Linked DNA regions of Homo sapiens: regions 1, 2 and 4 are each linked to region 3. The links are contacts of gene promoters, found by promoter capture Hi-C in blood cells and fetal thymus (Javierre and others, 2016). All regions are on one chromosome and are shown on one strand. The core of a region is centred on a gene start or on the middle of the fragment in contact, and the rest is flanking DNA. Distances in the headings are between cores, read along the strand shown.

Region 1 (2,783 bases), core at 155-2,654, 260 kb before region 3:
TCCCAAGTAGCTGGGAGTACAGGCACAGGCCACCATGCCTAGCTAATTACGTGTGTGTGTGAGATATGTATATGTATATATATATATATATATATATATATATATATTTTTTTTTTTTTTTTTTTTTTTTTGTAGAGCCAGGGTCCTGGTATGTTGCCTAGGCTGGTCTCGAACTCCTGGCTTCAAGTGATCCTCCTACCTCTGCCTCCCAAAGTACTGGGATTACAGGCATAAGCCACGCACCCAGCCCTTTATGGAAATTAATTGAAAAATTTTAACAAAGTTCTGTGATAATTTTGCCCCCTTTAAACATATCTTTGATTACAACATGAAGAACAATAGACCAATTAACAGCACTGTATTAGTTCAGGGTAAAAATGACAGTGGCTGGGATTCGGTGACAGCAGAGATGAATAATACCAGACAGATCCAAATAAATAAGGTGGATTTGGCCAGACAGTGGTTCATGAGTATAATCCTAGCATTTTAGGAAGCCAAGGCGGGAGGATCACTTCAGCCCAGGTGTTTGAGACGAGCCTGGGCAATATAGTGAGATCCCCATCTCTACAAAAAATCCATAAATTAGCTGGGTATGGTGGTGACCAGCTGTAGTCCCAGCTACTCAGGAGGCTGAGGTGGGAGGATTGCTTGAGCCCAGGAGCTCGAGGCTGCAGTGAGCCATGATTGCACCACTGCACTCCAGCCTGGGCGACAGTGAGACCCTGTGGGGGGCGGGGGCGGGGGAAAGCGGAGCTGTGGAGAGTGAAGCAGCCACCTCCCCCATGATTGAGGCTGTGTTGCTGAATTCCGTGAGTCACTTCATAAATGTTTGATGTCCAGGTTCAAGTCCCAACTCAGGTCCCAAAGCTGATGGGCCCAGGAACCCTCGTCCCTAAAACGATGAAACGACATCAGAGGGCGAGCAGCCCTAGAAGAAGCAGGCTCAGCTCGGGTGGAGGACTGCTGGATGGTCCTGGCACTTCTCTTTCCCCGAGCACGTTCTGCAGAAGAAGCGCTTTCCTAGTTCTCCCAAGGCCTCTGGCCTCACCTGTCACCCCTGTCCTTTGCCCAGGGATCAGTTTGGACTTCTTCCCAAACTTGGTCTACAGAGAAGTGAAGGGGCTGTTTCCTGTCCCACTTTTGAGAGTTTGCTTTAGAAACATAAAATTGGAAGGTGTCAGATTGATAGGCAGTTGGGAAGGACTCCGGCCACGCCTCTGGCTCCGTAGACGCTCCGCGCAGCCAAGACCCCTGAATCCCCAGCAGAGCGAAGATGTGGACGGAAGCCGAATGCCCACCCACCGCACTATTGTGGGCTGGGCGGGGGGGGGGGGGGGGGGGGCGGAGCGACCCCGGTGCCGTCATAGGGCCACGCCCTCGGGGGAGGGCATCGCGCCTGCGCCAGAACCGCTGCCTCGCTCCCGGAAGTGGAGGGTCTACACGAAGCGCCGCTGGGTCTGGGTGCCCGGAGGCAGCAGCGTTCGCGGAGTTCGCCCGCTGGCCCCCGATCACCATGTCGGCTTTCGACACCAACCCCTTCGCGGACCCAGTGGATGTAAACCCCTTCCAGGTAGAGCCCCTCTCCCGCCATCCAGCTCTCAGATTTCCCTAGGGCCCACGGCCGCCGCCCGGGCCTCTCGCTAGAGCCGGGAGACGTGGCGTAGGAGGGACGGGTCATCTGCCCAATGGGAGAGCGGGCTTTGAGGTCTGGCCTATCGTAACGCGTGAGGGGCGCGACTAGCAGCAGGTGGAACTGCAGAGGAGGCGGGGCGCTGAAGTGTTGGAGACAGTGGGGTCTTCTAGCACCCGGAGGCTGGGCTGTGCTAGGGAAGGGGACTGGAGCAGGTACGGTCGGACCCTTCCGGAAGTCTCCTAGCGTCAGGGAGAAGCGAAATGTGGCTATCGCATTCCCTCATTCTTGGATAGACACCTGTCTTGAGTCACTTTAGAAGAGGGGGTGACAGCAACATATGAGGAGGTGGTGAAGCCTCTGGTGGAGGGGAAAAATGTGGGAAAAGCCCAGGACACCTGCCACCGCTCCACCACCAGCCAAACTAGTGTATAAAGTACAGGAGAGCCCCTGAGATTTGTCAGGGAAAGAAAGATGGGAGAGGGCGGGAAGGTAGCCCAAGTTGAAAAATGGCCTTGATAAGAATTCCACATTTTGGCCATGGGTCTAGTTTGGAGTGGGTTTTGACCAGATAGGAGAGCCCGGGTTAGGGAGAGAGGAGAGGTGCGGGGGACTGTGAAAAATTCTGGACCCACAGGGAACGTTTGTCTGATGGAACTGTGTGTGGTGGCAACATAGTTGAGATGCACTGACGTGTGAGCTGGCCTGACTTTTTTTTTTTTTTTTGAGACGGAGTCTCGCTTTGTCGCCCAGGCTGGAGTGCATTGGCACGATTTCCGCTCACTGCAACCTCTGCCTCCCGAGTTCAAGCAATTCTCCTGCTTCAGCCTCCTGAGTAGCTGGGACTACAGGCGTATGCCACCACACCCAGCTAATTTTCATACTTTTAGTAGAGACGGGGTTTCACCGTGTTGGCCAGGCTGGTCTCAAACTCCTGACCTCAGGTGATCCATCCGCCTCGGCCTTCCAAAGTGCTGGGATTACAGGTGTGAGCCACCACGCCTGGCCTGACCTTTTGAACAGCAATCAAGGAAGAAACAATCTTCCTGCTTTCTTTCTTTTCCTTTTTTTTTGTTTTGTTTTGTTTTGTTTTTTGAGACAATTCTTGCTCTGTCGCCCAGGCTGGAGTGCAGTAGCGCGATCTCGGCTCACT
Region 2 (2,842 bases), core at 263-2,762, 340 kb before region 3:
GCCCCCAATCTCATCTTTCTCTAATGCTTCTCTCACCCGGCAGGAGACCCCGGGCCTCTCTTTCGGTCCCGTGGAGTTTCCGCCGGAGAGGCATCCAGTAGTTCCATAATGCCCCCAGGGCTTCAACTCCCCATCTTCCTCCCTTCTTTCTCTCTTTTATTTTTTTTTAAGTCTTTTTAATTTTTGTGGGTATACAATAGGTGTCTATATTTAGAGGGTACATGAGACGTTTTGATACAGGCATGCAATGCATAATAATCACATCCTGGAGAATGGGGTATCCCTCCCTTCTCTTTTGTATTTTATTTAATTAATTAATTTATTCATTTTTCGAGACAGAGCTTTGCTCTGTCGCCCCGGCTGGAGTGCAGTGGCATGATCTCGGCTCACTGCAGCCTTCAGCTCCCGGGTTCAAGCGCTTGTCCTGCCTCAGCCTCCCGAGCAGCTAGGATTACAGGAGCGTGCCACAACGCCGAGCTGATTTTTGTACGTTTAATGGAGACGGGGTTTCACCATGTTGACCAGGCTGGTCTCGAACTCCTGACGTCAAGTAATCCGCCCACCTCTGCCTCCCAAAGTGCTGGGATTAAAAGCGTGAGACACCGCGCCCGGCCCCTCCCTTCTCTTTTTTAAAACCTGCGTTCACCTAGCCTCCTTTCGAAAAGGACCCCACTGGATCTCAAGGGGCCAATGTTGCCTGAGCGAATTCCGCCTGGGAGGAAGGGGGCGGCCACGTTGGCAAGGCATCGTGCCTGGCTCACCCTAAAGCGCGCAGCTCTAAGGGTGGGCTCTAGGGCCTGGGTGGAGCGAGCCTACCGCCTTTTCAGAAGAGGTCACGCCCGCTTCCCCACGCGCCTCGGGGAACAGCCTGGCCCAAAGCCTCACTCCTCACGTCCCAGGGGTGGACGGGGGTCCGGGAGCCTCGAGCTCCGGGCAGGCGTGGCGAGGCTGAAGTCTGGGTCTTCCGCGCCCCGCGAGGACCACGCCGCGACGTAATCGCCCGCGGGGAGGCGCGGAGTGGAGCCGCAGCCAGCTCCTCCCGCACTCTGCTGACCGCGCACTAGCTGTCCTTGAGGCAAGAATACTTGGGAGCGGAAAAAAGGTGGGGGTGTTCCCCGGGGCGGGGGAGGAGGGGCAAGGCCCCAGCAAGCCTCTTGGAAATCTCTCCCTGGGAGGGGACGAGGGGCGGCCTTCAGTTGCAAATGGGAAGGGCTCGGATACCGGATTTGAAGCAGTGTTTGCACGGCAAGCGCAGCTTTTATTTAGACTGCCGGTTTGTGAGGGTTGGCTCTCAGAGCGCTGATGGCGATTATAGTGGAACTTCACCTTCACCTGCTCATGCGCCCCGCAGCGCGCCCGCTCCCACGCCCGCGTAGCTGAGGACCCAGACTCGCCAGGAAAGGCTAGTGAGGCTGGGGCCCGGGCGGGCCCGGCCGGGCCGGGTCAGGGGAGGGGCCTGGCGGCAGGGGCGGGGCCTCAGCTAAAGGCGCGGAGCACCCGGCGCCGAGAGCGCTGAGTAGAGCGGCGCCCGCTCGAGAGAAGTGGGGCCGAGATCGCGCCGTCCCAGCCCGCCCGCCGGCGTCTGCGCTGCTCCGGCGCCCTTACCCCTGCTGGCCCTTGCAAGGCGCGACCGGCGGCCATGCAGCCCCGGGGCTGAGGCCGCCCCATGGCAAAGCCGGCGGTCCCGGCGACGACGGCGCATGGAGAACTTCCGTAAGGTGCGCTCCGAAGAGGCGCCAGCGGGGTGCGGGGCCGAGGGAGGCGGCCCGGGCTCCGGCCCCTTCGCAGACCTGGCGCCGGGCGCGGTGCACATGCGGGTCAAGGAAGGCAGCAAGATCCGGAACCTGATGGCCTTCGCCACCGCCAGCATGGCGCAGCCAGCCACGCGCGCCATCGTCTTCAGCGGCTGCGGCCGGGCCACCACCAAAACCGTCACGTGCGCCGAGATCCTCAAGCGCCGCCTGGCGGGCCTGCACCAGGTCACGCGGCTGCGCTACCGGAGCGTACGCGAGGTGTGGCAGAGCCTCCCGCCTGGGCCCACGCAGGGTCAGACGCCTGGCGAGCCGGCCGCTAGTCTCAGCGTACTTAAGAACGTGCCCGGCCTCGCCATCCTACTTTCCAAGGACGCGCTGGATCCGCGACAGCCCGGCTACCAGCCCCCGAATCCCCATCCTGGTCCCTCGTCCCCGCCAGCCGCGCCAGCGTCCAAGAGGAGCCTAGGGGAACCCGCAGCTGGAGAAGGCTCCGCGAAGCGATCGCAACCCGAGCCAGGGGTTGCGGACGAGGATCAGACGGCCTGAAACTCCGGACTGTGGGCCACCTAGTCCGGCAGGATCTTCCGCCAGCGCCTCCACCTTCAGATGTACCTCCAGCCTTTCACTCCTCGGTCCTCCGGAGCCCACAACCTGGACACAGCTCCTCAAGACAGGTAGCATGGACCTTAAGGCGACAAGAGAGGGGCCCCAGGAGTGGCAGGAGAGGATCCCCGACCACCCTAGGGAAACTTCGTGCGATAATTGCTGCTTATGCCCGTGTTGCGTGAAGACACGGAACTTCACCTTTTCTGGGACCTTCTTTGGGGGAGAATGGTGGACAGTGGGATTCTGGAAACTTGTTTGGGACCCCCAAGGGTTAAAGCCACCCAGCATTCACGAAGAGCACCTGAAGTATGGAAGCTGAGAAGAGTTATTGGAATCACCCCCACCGTTGACAGAGGAAGGCAGGGGGTGAGAATTAACTGCTTGAGGGTAGGAGAGTCTGAGATGTGGGGGCCCTATTCCGCTCCCCGCCCTGGGACAGTTTTCCTTTCTAGTTTTCTTTCCCCTGCTTCAGAGGAGCATCT
Region 3 (2,750 bases), core at 155-2,654:
CACTCTAGGCCTTGGTTAGCATGCCTGGAAAATGGAGATAACATCTCTCAGCCTGGCAAAAGAGATGACAAGCATGAGAGTTATAAGGTACCACACACAAAGCAATAACAGAGAAGAGTATCCTTCCTTTAACACATTCTAGGCAAGTAAAATATTGGAAATAGCAGATATCATCCTCCCAGCCAGGGCTCTAGGGCCCATTTCTCAATTATCTCTGATTCTCGAAAACCTCAGCAAACAGCTTGTTTAAAAAGCAGCTAAAGGCCACAATTATGCTTTGGGAAGCTCTGCTCTGCACAATGAGGAAAAAGGTGATATGAAGAAAACCAAGCCAAGGATGTCAACTTTGAGCACAGGCCTTGTCGGCTTCTCATTTGCTGTTCCTGGCCAGAGAACTGGGCTGACTAGAAGTGCAGCCAGCCAGGTCAGCGGCTGCCCTCCCGGATTCCAGCCACCCCAGCACCCATGGTTATTTTTGGCTGGACTGCCCTACCACTGCAACCTCAAACCTGCCACCTCGCAAGCCTCCACCACCAACGGTGAAACGCTCCTCCTTTTCAAGGGCATCAAGAAGGGAAGCTGGAAGGCCGCCAACTCCGCCTCTGATGGGGGCCTGGTTCAGGCAATTTCCACCCCAGCTCCACATCAGGGCACCCACACCCGGAACTAAAGCTAGAGACTCCCGGGCGGGACGGAGGAGCAGCCAGGGGATTTGAACTGTCAGCTTGGCCTAGCCCATCCTCCGGGCTGGAGTGGCTCTACCACCACAACAAAACACACAGGGGAGCCTGCGCCCTCGTTCGCGTCCCTTCCTGCCGCCCCAGGTCCCAGGGGGTCTCAGAGTCCCATCCCCTGTAACCGCCACCAGTGGCGCCGAGGGGAGACCCGGGGACAGAGGGAAAGCCGGACTGGGCCAGAATCAAACTCCAGGCCGCCAAGGGAGGAGTCATCTGCGGACTAAGCCTGAAGCCAGGGGTAGGGGAGGGGTCTGAAGGGCTTCTCTGGCTCTTCTACGTCGGACCCCGACCCCATTCCGCGGGCAGGCACAGAGCCCAAACTGGACCCTTGAGCGGCCCCAGAGGCCGTTCAGGCTCCGCCTTCAACACCGTGGGGTCGAGGTCAGGGTCTGCAGTGACCGCCCTCCGGGGCAGAAGCAGCGGGTCAGGGGTGAGAGGTCGCGGCCCGATATGGGCCGAAGAGGAGAAAGAAAGGGAGTAGGCCGAGACCGAATGGCACCAGCGCGCCTGCCCCGCCGACTCACCCCCGGCCGCCGCCGCCGCTGTCGCCGCCGCGGACCCCAGCCCACACTTACCGTCTCCCAGGCTCCGGCTGCAGCTAGGCCCCACTCCCCGCTCCGAGCGCCTCTTCCGCTTCCGGCTGCGACCTCCGCCCGTGGCAGCCCCGCCCCCTCGCGTGACGCAGCCGTCGCCAGCCTCGGCTCGACCCGGCTCGGAGGCCTGGCCGCTCTAGCCCCCGACTCGAAGGCTCCGGGGCACCAGCCCTCTCCGCTCCGGCGGGCGCCGCGGCCTAGGAGACTAGTTCCGGGAGGGCCGAGGGGACGAGCCTGGCCCGGCCCGCCTCCCGCCGTGTCGCGGCGCACGTAGGTCCCCCGACCTGACAGGTGCGCGGCCCGGGCCGGCTGGGCTCTCAGAGCCGAGAGGTGGGGCCCCGACCTGGCCGTGGGGCTGGGCCCGCTCCGTCGCCCCGACCCCGCGTGGTCCGCCAACTCCCTCCTGCGCGCGGAGAGGACGGGCATTGTTCTCGGGGCCCCGGAGAGCGCGAGAGCGGCCTGAGGTCTGTGTGCCGGAGCTCGGGAAGGCGGACGCGACTCCGCTTGCGCGAAACGAGCGAACGACACATTATTATCTTGGTGTGTGCGGGTTTTTTGAAAGCCGTGGTGGCGCTCCCAGCTCGCCAGTGCGTGCGGGGCAGTTTCTGGGAAGATACCCTAGAGCTACTCTGGCGGGGCCGGAGTCTGGAGGGAGGAGATCCCCTCTCCTTGAGCCCCCTCCTGTGGAGCGGCTTCCTGCCGGCCTGCGTGGCCTCTCAGTTAAGACTCCCCCGCTAGACAAAAGCCCCGCCGGCTGCGTCTCTGGGCCACTGGACAGCCCCCTTTTGCAGAGGCCTCGAGCGTGGGGTCACCAAAATCCCTGACACCTACTGTCCCGCGCCGGGTCGGACAGGATTACGAGGCCCCACTTTCCAGATGAGAAAACTGAGGTGGGGATCTTTTGAGACCTCACTGTGAGCGTGCGCGTCCCGCCCGGTCTGGGAGTGGCGTCCCCGGCCTCGCGAGCGTCGCGCAGTGAAGCGACAGGGCGTGGCGCCTAATTGTCCCCACGCCACGCGAGGGCTAGAAACCCGCAGTCGGGGCGGACCATCCCTCCAGGCACCGCCCCCTCCTTGGGACCGCTCCGCGGGGGCGCCAAGGGTTTCCCCAGCACCGCCCCGGCGGCCGCCAGCCAGCCGCGGCCCCGCCCATGCCCCTCCCCGCGGGTCTGGGCCCGCCCCTGAAGCGGGGAGGTGTCGCAGGGGAGCCCCCCGCTTCCGAGCTGCGGCTGCGCATCAAGTCCTTCGCCAGCGGCTCTCCCTGAAACGGGGGGTTTCAAGGCGTGATTTGTAGGGGTGTTTAGTATCCCCTAAATCTCTGCCAGCTCCACCATGGCTATCCGAAGTAAACAACAGAAGCTAATTCAAAACTGGGTCCCCTTCCAAAAAATTACAAAAATTAGCCGGACTGGGTGGCGCAT
Region 4 (2,700 bases), core at 167-2,666, 320 kb before region 3:
TTTCCTCAGTGTGCCCAGGGATAGAGAATGGGAGACAGCAAGACAGAATACAATGTCTCATTAACTCTGGGCAGCATCCAGATACTTCAGGCCTGGGAGAGGTGTCCTTGACTGCCCAGGGGCTCAAAGTTAGGATGTAGCTAGTGAGATAAGATGCAACAACTGTGGAACTTGATCAACCCTATTTCAGAGCCATCGTGGATTCAGGAGCCCTCCTGTAGGAGATGGGAAACATTCAGGTGAGAGTCCTCAGAACTGGGGATGTGGCGAAAAGATCCTTGACTGCCAGCAGCAACCTAATTTCTGAGCCTCTTTCCTAATCTGTGAAATGAAGTAGTTTAACTCATTTTTTATGCAAGCTGGTTTGTGATATAAGAATATGTACTAATAAAATCCCTTACGCATAGGCCTTTTTTTTTTTTGAGATGGAGTTTTGATCTTGTTGCCCAGGCTGGAGTGCAATGGTGCGATCTCAACTCACTGCAACCTCTGCCTCCTGGGTTCCAGCAATTCTCCTGCCTCAGCCTCCCAAATAGCTGGGATTACAGGCATGCGCCACCACACCTGGCTAATTTTGCATTTTTAGTAGAGACAGGGGTTTCTCCATGTTGGTCAGGCTGGTCTCGAACTCCCGACCTCAGGTGATCCGCCCGCCTTGGGCTCCCAAAGTGCTAGGATTACAGGCGTGAGCAACCGCGTCCAGCGGCATTCTTTCCCCCATTCGCTGTTTTATTTTATGCCACAATGAGAAGGCGGGGCTAAGCAAAGTAGGTTTTTGTTTTGTTTGGTTTTTTTGAGACGGAGTTTCGCTCTTGTTGCCCAGGCTGGAGTGCAATGGCACCATCTCGGCTCACCGCAACCTCCTCCTCCTGGGTTCAAGCGATTCTCCTGCCTCAGCCTCCCGAGTAGCTGGGATTGCGGGCATGCGTTGCGCCACCACGCCTGGCTAATTTTGTATTTTTAGTAGAGACGGGGGTTCCTCCATGTTGCCCAGGCTGGTCTTGAACTCCCGACCGCAGGTGATCCGCCCGCCTCGGCCTCCCAAAAGTGCTGGGATTACAGGCATGAGCCACAGCGCCCGGGCGCAAAGTACGTATTTTTTATTATAGTTTGTTGTTATTGCTGTCATTCCTATTTTGAGGTGATTAAGTGCCCTCCTGGGCCTGACTCGAACAAGATCACGGTCGGTTGCTCCTCCCTCGCCTCCATTCCTACTTACAGGATGGCAGCTGCACGTCACCTGACCAGAGACAAGGCGGGACGCGAGGCTAACAGTTTGTCCTCAGCGCGCCGCCGTAGCCCCCGCCGCCGCCGGCCGCGCGGTGGCTCCTCCCGCCCACGCGCCAGAGTCGCAGTGGGCGGGCCTACGTGCTCCGCCCGCTGTGAGCCTGTCCGGCCCCCGCCCGCTCCGGAGCAACCCGCGAGCTTACACCGGCTTCTCTCTGTCCTCAGCCCGCGCGCCGCCATCGCCGTCATGCTGGGCGCCGCTCTCCGCCGCTGCGCTGTGGCCGCAACCACCCGGGCCGACCCTCGAGGCCTCCTGCACTCCGCCCGGACCCCCGGCCCCGCCGTGGGTAAGGCCCCTGCTTGCCACTGCCCGCGCCCTCGTGTCCTTGCGGTGACCTGGGTCCCCGCTGCCACTCCGGGGCGGGCTCTCCCCGGCCTAGCCCTTGCCCTACCCTGGTTACTGAACCCGGTGACCGCGGGCCGCCCTGCCCGCCGCCTCGAGTAGTGGAGGACCTGAAAGCGCGCCCCCGGGGCCTCCCCCCGCGCAACTTCCTGGCTGTGCCACCGCGGACAGGTCAGATGTGGACCTGCTGTGGGCGCCGAGGAGGGGACGCAGCGCTCCCCTTCGGTTCCCGGGCCATGACCCTGCCCCAGCGCCGACCCTGCGGCCACCTGACCGAGAGTGGCCGCCGCCGGCCTGCAGCGCCTCGGCGAAGGTGACATTGAGCCTCCGGGCACGCCGCTTGGGGTCCGAGGACACAATATACTTCCGTATGGGACACACGATTATACTTTTCAATCAGGCATTTCTCGGTTAGCGATTAGTGTGTCACCTTCACAGCCTTTTCCATCATTTTTAGGGTCTGCTGTGCCACGTTCTAATTCTTCCACGTTTAAAATAGATGGAAGTGTGTGGTTGTTTCCTGATCTCCGGAAGATAGCCAGAGTTTTGATAGGGCTTATGATAAAAATATCACTCTTTTGAAAACTGAATGTCACAGACACAGGAATACTGGGTTTTACAAGCATAGGAACGCTTCGTGTTTTTTCCCCTTTGTAATAGAAGCCTGATTGCTGGAGTATGAGACGTGCTTCTGATTTTTGTCTATTTTCCTTCCCTTTATATGTGTGCTGGGAGGTTTTGAGTCCACCACCATAGAATAATTACAGTAATTGCACTTCGATCTTGGTCCGTGAAATTTAGCTTCTATGCATGCATATTATATTTTATTTTTGAACCTGCATCACTGGCAACTATGCATGCGTATTTAAACATAAGAACTCAGAAACTCGTTTCAGGGTATGCTGAAGTTAAAAATTAAAAAAAGAACTCAGCCGGGCGCGGTGGCTCATGCCTGTAATCCCAGCACTTTGGTAGGCCGAGGCGGGCGGATCACCTGAGGTCAGGAGTTCAAGACCAGCCTGGCCAACATGGTGAAACCCTGTCTGTACTAAAAATACAAAAAATTTAGC

What was found. Contacts are between HindIII fragments. The CHiCAGO score rates a contact against its expected background, and 5 or more counts as called.
Region 1: the fragment with the promoter of SCAMP2 here is called in contact with a fragment that was not itself captured in region 3 in 13 of 17 cell types (naive CD4 T cells, naive CD8 T cells, non-activated CD4 T cells and 10 more); the score reaches 10.6 in naive CD4 T cells.
Region 2: a contact is called between the fragment with the promoter of RPP25 here and a fragment that was not itself captured in region 3, in 9 of 17 cell types (naive B cells, total CD8 T cells, naive CD4 T cells and 6 more). The highest score is 8.4, in naive B cells.
Region 4: a contact is called between the fragment with the promoter of COX5A here and a fragment that was not itself captured in region 3, in 12 of 17 cell types (non-activated CD4 T cells, naive CD8 T cells, total CD4 T cells and 9 more). The highest score is 13.7, in non-activated CD4 T cells.

Annotation. Positions count from the first base shown.
Region 1 is chr15:74,871,986-74,874,768 of GRCh38, reverse strand. SCAMP2 (secretory carrier membrane protein 2) reads left to right here and starts at 1,404. Exons shown (of 9, transcript NM_005697.5): 1 at 1,404-1,570. The coding sequence starts at 1,514. The HindIII fragment of the contact is 8,993 bases long and covers 1-2,783 here.
Region 2 is chr15:74,955,442-74,958,283 of GRCh38, reverse strand. It overlaps RPP25 (ribonuclease P/MRP subunit p25), which reads left to right and starts at 1,512. Exons shown (of 1, transcript NM_017793.3): 1 at 1,512-2,842. The coding sequence starts at 1,701. The coding sequence ends at 2,300. RefSeq lists enhancers at 895-1,828, 1,829-2,762, 2,763-2,842 and a silencer at 1,220-1,869. The HindIII fragment of the contact is 5,452 bases long and covers 1-2,842 here.
Region 3 is chr15:74,614,461-74,617,210 of GRCh38, reverse strand. It overlaps CLK3-AS1 (CLK3 antisense RNA 1), which reads left to right and starts at 1,419. Exons shown (of 9, transcript XR_007064715.1): 1 at 1,419-2,750. CLK3 (CDC like kinase 3) reads right to left here and starts at 1,375. Exons shown (of 13, transcript NM_001130028.2): 1 at 1,313-1,375. RefSeq lists enhancers at 10-620, 621-1,232 and silencers at 1,321-1,860, 2,281-2,600. The HindIII fragment of the contact is 4,168 bases long and covers 1-2,750 here.
Region 4 is chr15:74,936,789-74,939,488 of GRCh38, reverse strand. It overlaps COX5A (cytochrome c oxidase subunit 5A), which reads left to right and starts at 1,416. Exons shown (of 5, transcript NM_004255.4): 1 at 1,416-1,574. The coding sequence starts at 1,475. RefSeq lists a silencer at 1,163-1,722. The HindIII fragment of the contact is 6,406 bases long and covers 1-2,700 here.